Regions from separate parts of the Homo sapiens genome. Here region 1 is linked to region 2. Evidence: promoter capture Hi-C in human tissues and cell types (Jung and others, 2019). All regions are on one chromosome and are shown on one strand. The core of a region is centred on a gene start or on the middle of the fragment in contact, and the rest is flanking DNA. Distances in the headings are between cores, read along the strand shown. Region 1 holds the start of PSMC4 (proteasome 26S subunit, ATPase 4). Region 2 holds the start of RPS16 (ribosomal protein S16).

Region 1 (5,060 bases), core at 2,406-4,905, 540 kb before region 2:
GATGTGCCACCGCCTTTGCCAACATGGTCTTCCCACAGCCAGGTGGGCCATACATGAGGACGCCTCGGGGGGGATCGATGCCGATCTGAAACCCAGAGGAAGGAAGAGAAGTGGGAGTCAGGGGTTCCACCTCCAACCCCAGACCCAATGGGGCCTCTCCCTTCCCTGCCACCTGCACCGCCTCACCTGCTTGTAGAGCTCGAAATGCGTGAGCGGGAGCTCCACGGCCTCCCGCACCTCCTGCTTCTGGATGTCCATGCCTCCGATGTCCGCGTACATCACATCTGGCTTCTGGTCTGGTGGGAGAGCAGAGCTGGGGCTCCTGGCCAGGTCCTCAAGGTCCCCATGGGGCCCTCCCAGCTGCAGGCTCCCCCTTTACCTGAGGTGAGCATCATGATGCTGCTGTCGGCTTCGGGGGGCAGCACGTCCACCAGTGCATTGCTGTGCTTGTGGAGGGCCACTGAGGCGTTGGGCTTGAGCAGCTCCCGATCGATGGTGCTCAGGATGCGCACATAATAGTTGGAGCCTGCGAGAAGGGAGAGAGGAAAACGAGAAGTGTCAGCCTGGAAACTGCCCCTTCCCCCTTCCTCCCTCCTAATCTCCACACCCCAACATCTCTGGTTCAGACCCTGAGGGGTCCCCTCTCGGCCTCCAGCCTTCCCTCCTGCTGTCCGTCCCCAGTATTCACACGAACTCCTTGTCTACCGCCCTGATTCTCTCTTGACATCCAGCCCTGGCTGTCCAGCAGGCCTCCCCCTGCATCTCATACTAGTGAGGCACACTTCTGTTTCCAGGCTCAGTCTCTCTCCTGATTGTCAGACCTGGCTGACCAGCAGCCTCCTGGACACCTCCCATGTGCTCTGGACTGCCCTCCCTGTCTTCCCACAAACCTACTCCTCTACCCATGGTGCCATCTCAGGGAAAGCCACACTATCCCAACTCCCACAGGTCAAAGAGAAAGGCCTCATCCTGGATACCACCCTCTCCTCACTTCCTCATAGCCCACCAGTCCAATTCCAGGCACAATCGCACACCTTTCTCCAAAACCTTTACAAGAACATGGCTTGGTCCAGAGGAGCAGAGCCCAGAAACAAGAAAAAACAGATAAGATGCCAGTGACAATGACTATCAAGAGGGCAAGGCCTAGACCTATATAAACAGCAGCAGCTACAATATACTCTGATAAGGACTCTGAGTCCCTATCAGGGCCCAGTATTTTTTTTTTTTTTTTTTTTTTTAGACAGAGTGTTGCTCTGTCACCCAGGCTGTAGTACAGTGTCACGATCTCGGCTCACTGCAACCTCCACCTCCTGGGTTCAACAGATCCTGTGCCTCAACCACCTGCGTAGCTGGGATGGCAAGTGTGTGCCACCACACCCAGCTAATTTTTATATTTTCAGTAGAGACGGGGTTTTGCCATGTTGCCCAGCCTGGTCTCAAACTTCTGGCCTCAAGTGATCTGCCCACCTGAGTCTCCCAAAGTACTGGGATTATACGTGTGAGGCACCATGCCTGGCCTCAGAGCCCAATCTCTTAACACTCCTACTCATCGTTTCAAACTGCAGGCCCCAAACCAGTAGTAGTTGTGAAATCAATTTGGAAGGTCATGACCAGAACTGTGTTTAAAGCAAAACAGACTAGAATAGGATAGAAAACATCAGCATATACCACACCTAGTAAGGCTAAATATTTCATGGTGAAACTTATGTTTTACACATCTATCTAAAAAGTAAGAGACAGATACAGATAATCACAATGTAAAATACATTTCTGGCCAGGTGCAGTGGGGCTCAGGCCTGTAATCCCAACACTTTCGGAGGGTGAGGCGGGTGGATCGCCTGAGGTCAGGAGTTCAAGACCAGACTGGCCAACATGGTGAAACCCTGTCTCTACTAATAATACAAAAATTAGCCAGACTTGGTGGTCCATGCCTGTAATCCCAGCTACTTGGGAGGCTGAGACAGGAGAATCGTGTGAACCTGGGAGGTGGAGGTTGCAGTGAGCCGAGATCATGCCATTGCACTCCAGCCTGGACAAGAGCAAAACTCTGTCTCAAAACAAAAAACAAACAAACAAAAAAAACATAGATATACATATATATATGTGTATATATATATATATGTATGTATTTCTACCTTTCGATCAGTCAAAATACTCTGAAGAACATTGCACTGCACTGCCCTGCCTTGTTTGCTGCTGCCTAGCACATGGTAGGAAATAGTTGTTAAGTGGACAGATGAATGAATGAGGTGTCCTTAGCACACCTGTGGTAGAGCCCACGATGGCTGTATTCTGATCCACAGCCTCCAGAAATTGTCCGATGACCAGCGGGATGCTTTGGATTCGCTTCACCTCCTCCTGGGCATGGAGAAATTCCTTTTTCAGGTTCTTTTGCTCATCTTTGATGTATTCCTCCTGCACCTCCAGGAACTCCAGCTCTTGCTGCAGCTTCTGCGAGCAGAGAGGGGACAGAAGGGGATGGCTCCAGACTTGCTGATCCAGAGAGTGGTGGAAAGTGGGGAAGAGTATGAGATGTCAGGTCCTGTGCAAGGTCTGGGTTGGGGGTCGAATGTACCTTGTAGCGGCTGTACAGGTCCTCCAGGTCCTCAGGCTCAGGGCCCAGGAAGGACAGGCCGGTCTGGGGCCGGGACACGGACAGTGCTGGGATCTCATCCTAGACGAAAGGGGATAACTCACATTGGAAGAAGACAGTCCTCTCATGAAAGCTTCCCAACTTCACTAATGTTTGTTCCCCTCCCCACTTCACCCTGATGTCACTTAGCCCCTAACAGACCCCTGATATCTTAAGACCCTCTAAATAGATCCTGGAAACCTTTTGGCCACCTAAACAAGCTCTTTATGTCAACTTGCCCCTCAAACAGATCTTATGTTATCATATACCACTCATAACATGTCCCCAGTGTCACACAACCCCCAACTAGGATCTAAACGTCACATCAACTCCTTATCAGACCCAAATGCCACCCAATCCCCTTCAAGAGGTTCCTAATGTCACATGGCTCTCCTAGATAGGCTGTTAAAGTGACTGCGCCTTCAACGAGTCCCAACATTCCCCAGTTTCCCCTCAAAGATCCCTTATGTCACAGTCTCCTAACTCACCTTAGACCTAAATATCACTCAGGCAAGCCACAGATAATACTTAACTACCCGCCCCATTACCCCCATCAGCAAAGCCCTGAACATCAGTCAGCCCCGCAGCCCAGACCCGGGGATCACTCGGCCGCACGGCGGGATCCCATATATCACTCACCGCCTGACCCAATCCCAACGCCGGGCCACCGACCTCACTAAGCACTACCGGCCAGGGTTCGAAATCAATCCGTCTCAAAGACCCACTAACGTCACTCACTCCCCCAGCCCCGCTTTCTGAGCCTTACCTCCTACCATCACTCGGCCACCCAGACAGGCCTTCGAATGGCACAAAGCTCTCCACCGAGGCCTCTAAAATAACCCCAACCTGGGCCGGGGTCCTGGAAGCCATTCCTCCCCCCACTCAGGTCTGGCTTCACCCTCTCCCCGCGAGCCCGGCCCGGACTAAAAAGCCCAAGTCCCCACTGTACCTGAGCCTTCTCCACCAAGATGCCTATCTCCTCCATAGTGACCAAGCCGGCCTCTGTGTGGCCTGGGATGATCTGTCACCGCTTCCGCTGACGACAACGGAAGTCCCTGGCTGAGGAGGCTTCTGGGAAGTGTAGTTTAAGTTACGGCTGAGAGGTGCTGGAAGGGCAGGATAGGACGAAGGGCTGGTCTGGGCTCCGCCCTCAACATAAGCTCATGCGCTGTCCGTACCCGCAGGCGCGAGGGCGGGACGGGAGCTGTGGGCGTGCGCAGTATCACGCGGTGGCGCCATCTCGCCCTGCCGTGGAGGGCTGGGGGTTCTCTCCGGGAGGTGGCGCAGCCCCGTTGCTCTTTCAACGGAGTAAGTTCGCAGAGCTCTGGCACGGACAGTCTGGCGGCCAACTGCTCTTCGCTTTCTAGTGTCTGGGCTGGAGGGTCCTTGAGCTGGGTTCCACAGAAGGGATTGATCGTACGGGCGGGTAAGGTCTCCACGTGGCGCTGATCCAAAGATTGTGCGCCGCGCGGGCGTGGGAAGATCCGAGCTGCCCCTGAAGGTGACATTTCATACTGGGCTTTACCCCGGGATTGAGGAGCCCCGAGCCCGCAGTGAGCAACCAATCGAGTAGAACCCACGCGTCTGGGCTGGGGAAAAGGAGGCAGCGAGTGCCCAGAAGTTGGGTAGCACAGGAGATCCATAGACCTTAGTTCTGTATCCCAGGTTTCCGCCTTACAGATCTATGCCAGGTCCTGCGCTTAAGCTTTACAGGCATCATCGTCGCAAGTATTATGTTTCCTCATTTATAGAGAAGGAGACAAGCTCAGAGCCACGAAGCCACCAGCCACAGTCAACAATGTGCCGAAGGGACAAAGCATAGATTGGGACCCAGGTCTGTCTGTCCCCAAAGCCTGTACTCTTGGCCCCAGGGAAACACTGCTACCCTTCACACCAGCTACAATTTTTGTTAAGTAAACCTTTTATTGAAGTTAAATAAAGAGAAGAGCACAAATCATTACAGCTCGACAAAATTACACAAAGTGAACATGCCCATACAACCTGAATCCAGATCGCAAAACCAAACAGTAGAAGCCTCATGTGCTCCCCTTTCCCCCATCCCTTCTTCTCCCCCCTCCACTCCCCGCCCCGAGACGGAGTCTCACTCTGTTGCCCAGGCTAATATTTGTATTTTTAGTAGAGACAGGGTTTCACCATGTTGGCCAGGCCGGTCACAAACTCCTGACCTCAAGTGATCTGCCTGCCTTGGCCTCCCAAAGTGCTGGGATTATAGGCGTGAGCCACCACATCCGGCCTCCCGATCCCTTCTAAAGGTTATCATTCATCTGTTTTTTTCTTTTTTTTTTAAGAGCTAGAGTCTCTGTCGCCCAGGCTGGAGTGCAGTGGCACGATCATAGCTCACTAGAGTCTCCAACTGCTGGCCTCAAGCTATCCTCTCTCCTCAGCCTCTGAAAGCACTGGGATTACA
Region 2 (5,263 bases), core at 1,759-4,258:
TCCAGTCTGGGCGACAGAGCGATACTCCATCTCAAAAAAAAAAAAGAAAAATTATTAGTCAAGCATAGTGGTGGAGGCCCGTGATCTGGGCTACTCAGGAGTCTGAAGCAGGAGAATCTGTAATCTCAGCTACTCCAGAGTCTGAAGCAGGACAATCACTTGAACCGGGGAGGTGGAGGTTGCAGTGAGCTCAGATTGCATCACTGCATTCCAGCCTGGGTGACACAGACTCTATCTCAATTTAAAAAAAAAAAAAGAAAAAGTACAGGTAGAATGTGTGCATCCTCTCATCTGCCTGTGTCTTCATTGGAAAACACCTGTGCTAGCCTTTATCTGTGTCTGCAAGTGAATATTTGAGGTCTCTGCTCTATTTATTTTATTTTATTTATTTATTTTTGAGACAGAGTTTATTTATTTATTTATTTTTGAGACAGAGTCTTGCTCTGGCGCCCAGCCTAGGGTGCAGTGGCGACATCTCAGCTCACTGCAACCTCCGCCTCCCGGGTTCAAGCGGTTCTCCTGCCTCAGCCTCCCTTGTGGCTGGGATACAGGCACCTGCCACCATGCCCAGCTGATTTTTGTATTTTTAGTAAAGGCGGGGTTTCACCATGTTGGCCAGGCTGGTCTTGAACCCTGGGCTCGAGTGATCCTGCTGCCTTGGCCTCCCAAAGTGCTGGGATTATAGGTGTGAGCCACTGCACCTGGCCTCTGTCTCAAGTATTTTGGAAACATCATGCCTGCCTTTATCTCTTTTTTGTCTGAGGGTTGGCCTCTCTGCCTCTAAATCTGTCACTGGGCTTGTTTTGGGGGTCCATCTCTTGACTGTCCTGGTCTCTCCCTTTTCTCCTCCTCTTCTCCCTTGGCCTTTCATCTTTCTCTTCTTCTCCACTTGTGCCTACATTTCTTTGGGCTGTGTCTGTGTCCCTCCCGGTCAGCCTCTGGGTACTTCCTTCCTCCCTCCCAACAGCCCCCTCCCCCCTCACCCTTTTAGAGCTGGACTCCGGGCTGGCTTTTCCCTCTGGCCCCAGACCTGCCCTCCAGTGTCTCCCTGTCTCCACCCTCTTTGGCAAGGTGCACCACGACGCCCTTTTGAACCCTGGATCCCAGACCCTGTACTGCCAGAGAAACTGAGGCAACTGTGGGCTCCCTCTAGCTCTGAGAGAGGAACCTCTTCGCTGGGGAGACTCTTGATGGGGTGAGACGCAGGGACATCTGCCGGGGAACCAGAGGACAACCCAATCCTGGGGTTCCTCAGGTGGGGTTGGGGGGCTGGGGATGGAGAATTCTGTGGGGAGGAGGCTTAAGTGGAGGGTGATTTGGGGGAGAGGAAAAAGATGACTGGGAGATTCTGGAGAAAGAGATTCTAGGGGCTGGGCGCGGTGGCTCACGCCTGTAATCCCAGCACTTTGGGAGGCTGAGATGAGTGGATCATTTGATGTCAGGAGTTCGAGACCAGTCTGGCCAATATGGTGAAACCCCGTCTCTACTACAAATACAAAAATTAGCCGGGCGTGGTGGTGCATGCCTGTAATCTCAGCTACTCAAGAGGCTGAGGCAGGAGAATCGCTTTAACCGGGGAGGCAGAGGTTGCAGTGAGCAGAGATCATGCCACTGCACTCCAGCCTGGGCGACAGAGCAGGACTCTGTCTCAAAAAAAAGAAAAAAAAAAAACAAAAAACAGAGAGATTCGGCCGGGCGTGGTGGCTCACGCCTGTAATCCCAGGACTCTGGGAGGCTGAGGCGGATCACATCACCTGAGGTCAGGAGTTCGAGACCAGCCTGGCCAACGTGGTGAAACCCCATTTCTACTAAAAATACAAAAAACGACCAGGGCGTGGTGGTAGACGCCTGTAATTCCAGCTACTCGGGAGCCTAAGGCAGGAGAATCTCTTGAACCCGGGAGGCGGAGGTTGCAGTGAGACGAGATCGCACCACTGCACTCTAGCCAGGGCAACGAGCGAAACTCCGTCTCAAAAAAAAGAGAGAGATTCTAGGGTGGGGACGGGGAAGAGGTTAATTCTTGGGGGAGGGTCTCTTAGGAGAGGGGGATTCTAACGGAGGGAAAACTCCAGGGAAGGCAGTTGCTGGGAAGAGGAGTCTCGGAAGGGAAATAAACTCAGGAGAAAGGTAGATTTTGAGGGACGGGTCTCTGAGAGAAAAGTTTTTGTGGATTTGCGGGGCGGGGTGTTCTGGGAAAGGGGGATTTGCCGGGAAAGGGGGATTTGCCGGGAAAGGGAGATTCTGGAGGAGGGAGATTCCAGGGGTACTGGGTCCTGACAAGAGAAAGATTCTGGGAAGGGTGACTGAGGGGACGAGGACCGAATGGAGGGAGATTCAGGGAAAAGGGGGGTCTAAGTTGAGCACTCTTAAGAGGGACATTTGGGGTTGGCCATCTGAGAGAAGGATGGGAAACATTCTGGGAAGAGGAAACTGAAAGGAAGGACATTCTGGTGAAAGGGAGATTCTGAGGGGAAGGGGCTCTGAGGGGAAAAGGATTCTGGGAGAGGATCCCCAAGGAGGGGGATTCTAGGGAGGATAGGATTCTGGAAGTCCTTAATCTGAGAATCCAGCCAGATTTCTTGCAGTAGATTCCAAAGGAAGATTCTGATGCGGGGGATTCGGGGAGGAGGGAGTCCAGAGGGGAGAAAGATTACAGGTGTTGGGAGGGTGGGAACTGATTTAAAGAAAGGGCGAAGGGAGATTATTAAAGAGCCAGAATGCAAAGAAGAGCTGCGGTAGTCGACTACAGAGGACGCGAAGCACACTCCCGCAGCCTTCCCTTCAGTCCGCACACGACACTCCCAGGCCCCGCCCCTTCCGCCCACAGAGCCCGCCACTTCCGCCTCACAGGGCCCGCCCGCTCTGAGCGCCTAAGGGCCTTCCCGCCGCTGACCAGACGCCCCGCCCGTTAGCCGCAACAGAAGCCGTAAAGCTCTCTCCCGTCGCGACGCAGTGCTCAAGGCGCCTGCGCAGACCCTGAAAAGCGGCCAGGGTGGCCCCTAGCTTTCCTTTTCCGGTTGCGGCGCCGCGCGGTGAGGTTGTCTAGTCCACGCTCGGAGCCATGCCGTCCAAGGGCCCGCTGCAGTCTGTGCAGGTCTTCGGACGCAAGGTGAGCCAGACGCCGGATGGGAAGGGGAGGGGAAGGAGAAGGCCAGGGTCTGGGAGAGGTCGGTGGGCAGGAATCTAGGGGGTAACATGGGAGCTGGAGCCGGAGCTCACGGGGCCCCTGTTTCTCTTGTATCTTACAGAAGACAGCGACAGCTGTGGCGCACTGCAAACGCGGCAATGGTCTCATCAAGGTGAACGGGCGGCCCCTGGAGATGATTGAGCCGCGCACGCTACAGTACAAGGTGCTGGGATCCGGCACCGGCGTTGAGTGGATGGAGGACTCTTGGAGACAGAGATGTTGTAGCTCTTGAAAGCTGGGGGGGCTGGCATCAGCAACGGGATGTTTAGAAGTTGTGTTGGGTGTAGAACAGTGGGGTATTTGGCAATAGAGCTGGGCTTGGGGTTCAGAAGATGTAAAAGCTGAGATGGGGTTGTTGAAGATTAAGGGTTTGCTTTGAGAACTGGGATGTTAGGAAGCTCACCTCACTGGGGCGGGGGGACCCAAAGGGTGAAGGGACACCGACTATTTTTTATTTTATTTATTTGTTTTGAGAGGGAGTCTCGCTGTGTCGCCCAGGCTGGAGTGTAGTGGCGCGATCTCGGATCACTGCAACCTTCGCCTCCCGGGTTAAAGCGATTCTCCTGCCTCAGCCTCTTGAGTAGCTGAGATTACAGGCATGCACCACCACGCCCGGCTAATTTTTGTATTTTTAGTAGAGACGGGGTTTCGCCATATTGGCCAGAGTGGTCTCGAACTCATTACCTCAGGTGATCCACCAGCCTCGGCCTCCCGAAGTGCTGGGATTGCAGGCGTCAGCCACCGTGTGCGGCCGAATTTGGGTCTGTTTAAATGCTTGCTTGTAAAAGGGGTTCCTCTGTTCCCTTTTTGGGACTCTCAATTTCTTTGGCTCAGAATGGAAAGAAACCAGAGTCTGATTTCTGCCCCTTCTGAACTCTACTACTTTTAAAAGAAAGAATATCTACATTGCAGGGTCAGTTAAAAAAATTTTTTTTGAGTTATAAGGTTCTTTTTTAAAAACAGTATCTTGCTGTCACCTACCCTGGAGTGCAATAGCACAATCCTAATGAACTGCAGCCTTAAACTCCTGAGTTGGAGATCCTCCCACCTCAGCCTTTCGGTTGCCAAGACTACAGGCACATCACCACGCCTGGCTCATTTGAGAAATATTTTTCTGTAGACGTGGGGTCTCACTTTATTGCCCAGGCTGGTCCTTGGTCTCATGTGATCCTTCTGCCTGGACTGGGATTACAGGTGTGATCACCATGCCTGGCCTAGAATTTAATAAAAATTCTGAGATTTCCTTTGTGTAGCAGATGTTGAATGTTACTGTTATTGGCTGTCACTGTATTTGAAGGATTTGTATGTGTACCCTCTGTTGAGTTTTGGGGACATAGCAGTGATCCAGATGACTTAAGGTCTTGCCTTCATGGACCTGCCAGCCTAGTTGGGGAGAAGGACTGGGCCCAATACCAGAAGCTGATCCAAAGTGGTCAGAACTGGGGAAGGAGACCTGTGAGCTGAAAGCAGGTAAAGGAAGTATCCAGACAGAGGCACTGGTAAAAGACCTGGAGCTGGGAAGGGTCTAGGGACCAGGGACAGGTTGTACTGTAATTCTGGAAACCTGTGAGGCTCAAAGAAAGGGCAGAGAGCTCAGGTGGGAAATAGAAAAGGCACCTGAACAGTCCAGGGATGGCTTTCGACTACTTGAAACAGCCTTGGGAGTTTCAGAAGCTATTGGAATGCTCCTTACTGTTCAGCCTTCTAAGAACCAGTCTTAGAGGTAGGGTGTCTGAGGTCCAGTGAGGGACACAAGTAGGAGGGAGCCCAGATCTTGTTCCCTTTACCTTGCCTATATTTCTTAACACCACTTCAGCAGTCTCATATCTGGCTTTTTTGACTTTCCTCTTCTCTGGGTCTGTAGAGGGCCTTGGAGTGACACCCTGACCCCCATCCACTAGTACTTGAAGGCCAGTGGTGGCAGAAGCCACAGAAACAAGAAGCCCAGTGAGATGGCTAAGCTGCCCAGCATGTAACTTAAATCCCTGTTCATTCCCCATTCCTTTAGCTGCTGGAGCCAGTTCTGCTTCTCGGCAAGGAGCGATTTGCTGGTGTAGACATCCGTGTCCGTGTAAA

Evidence for each region. Contacts are between HindIII fragments. The study calls those that stand out against the background at their distance.
Region 1: the fragment with the promoter of PSMC4 here is called in contact with the fragment with the promoter of RPS16 in region 2 in 1 of the 25 tissues and cell types used here (lymphoblastoid cells).

What each region holds. Positions count from the first base shown.
Region 1 is chr19:39,969,760-39,974,819 of GRCh38, reverse strand. It overlaps PSMC4 (proteasome 26S subunit, ATPase 4), which reads right to left and starts at 3,655. Exons shown (of 11, transcript NM_006503.4): 1 at 3,582-3,655; 2 at 2,576-2,674; 3 at 2,265-2,451; 4 at 380-526; 5 at 187-296; 6 at 1-85. The coding sequence starts at 3,617. It overlaps LOC124904720 (a long non-coding RNA gene), which reads left to right and starts at 3,849. Exons shown (of 3, transcript XR_007067260.1): 1 at 3,849-3,940; 2 at 4,384-4,466. RefSeq lists enhancers at 2,692-3,371, 3,396-3,785, 4,286-4,335. The HindIII fragment of the contact is 6,535 bases long and covers 3,533-5,060 here.
Region 2 is chr19:39,433,694-39,438,956 of GRCh38, reverse strand. It overlaps RPS16 (ribosomal protein S16), which reads left to right and starts at 3,008. Exons shown (of 5, transcript NM_001020.6): 1 at 3,008-3,109; 2 at 3,249-3,350; 3 at 5,196-5,263. The coding sequence starts at 3,062. RefSeq lists enhancers at 803-1,571, 3,235-3,814 and a silencer at 2,755-2,854. The HindIII fragment of the contact is 40,426 bases long and covers 1-5,263 here.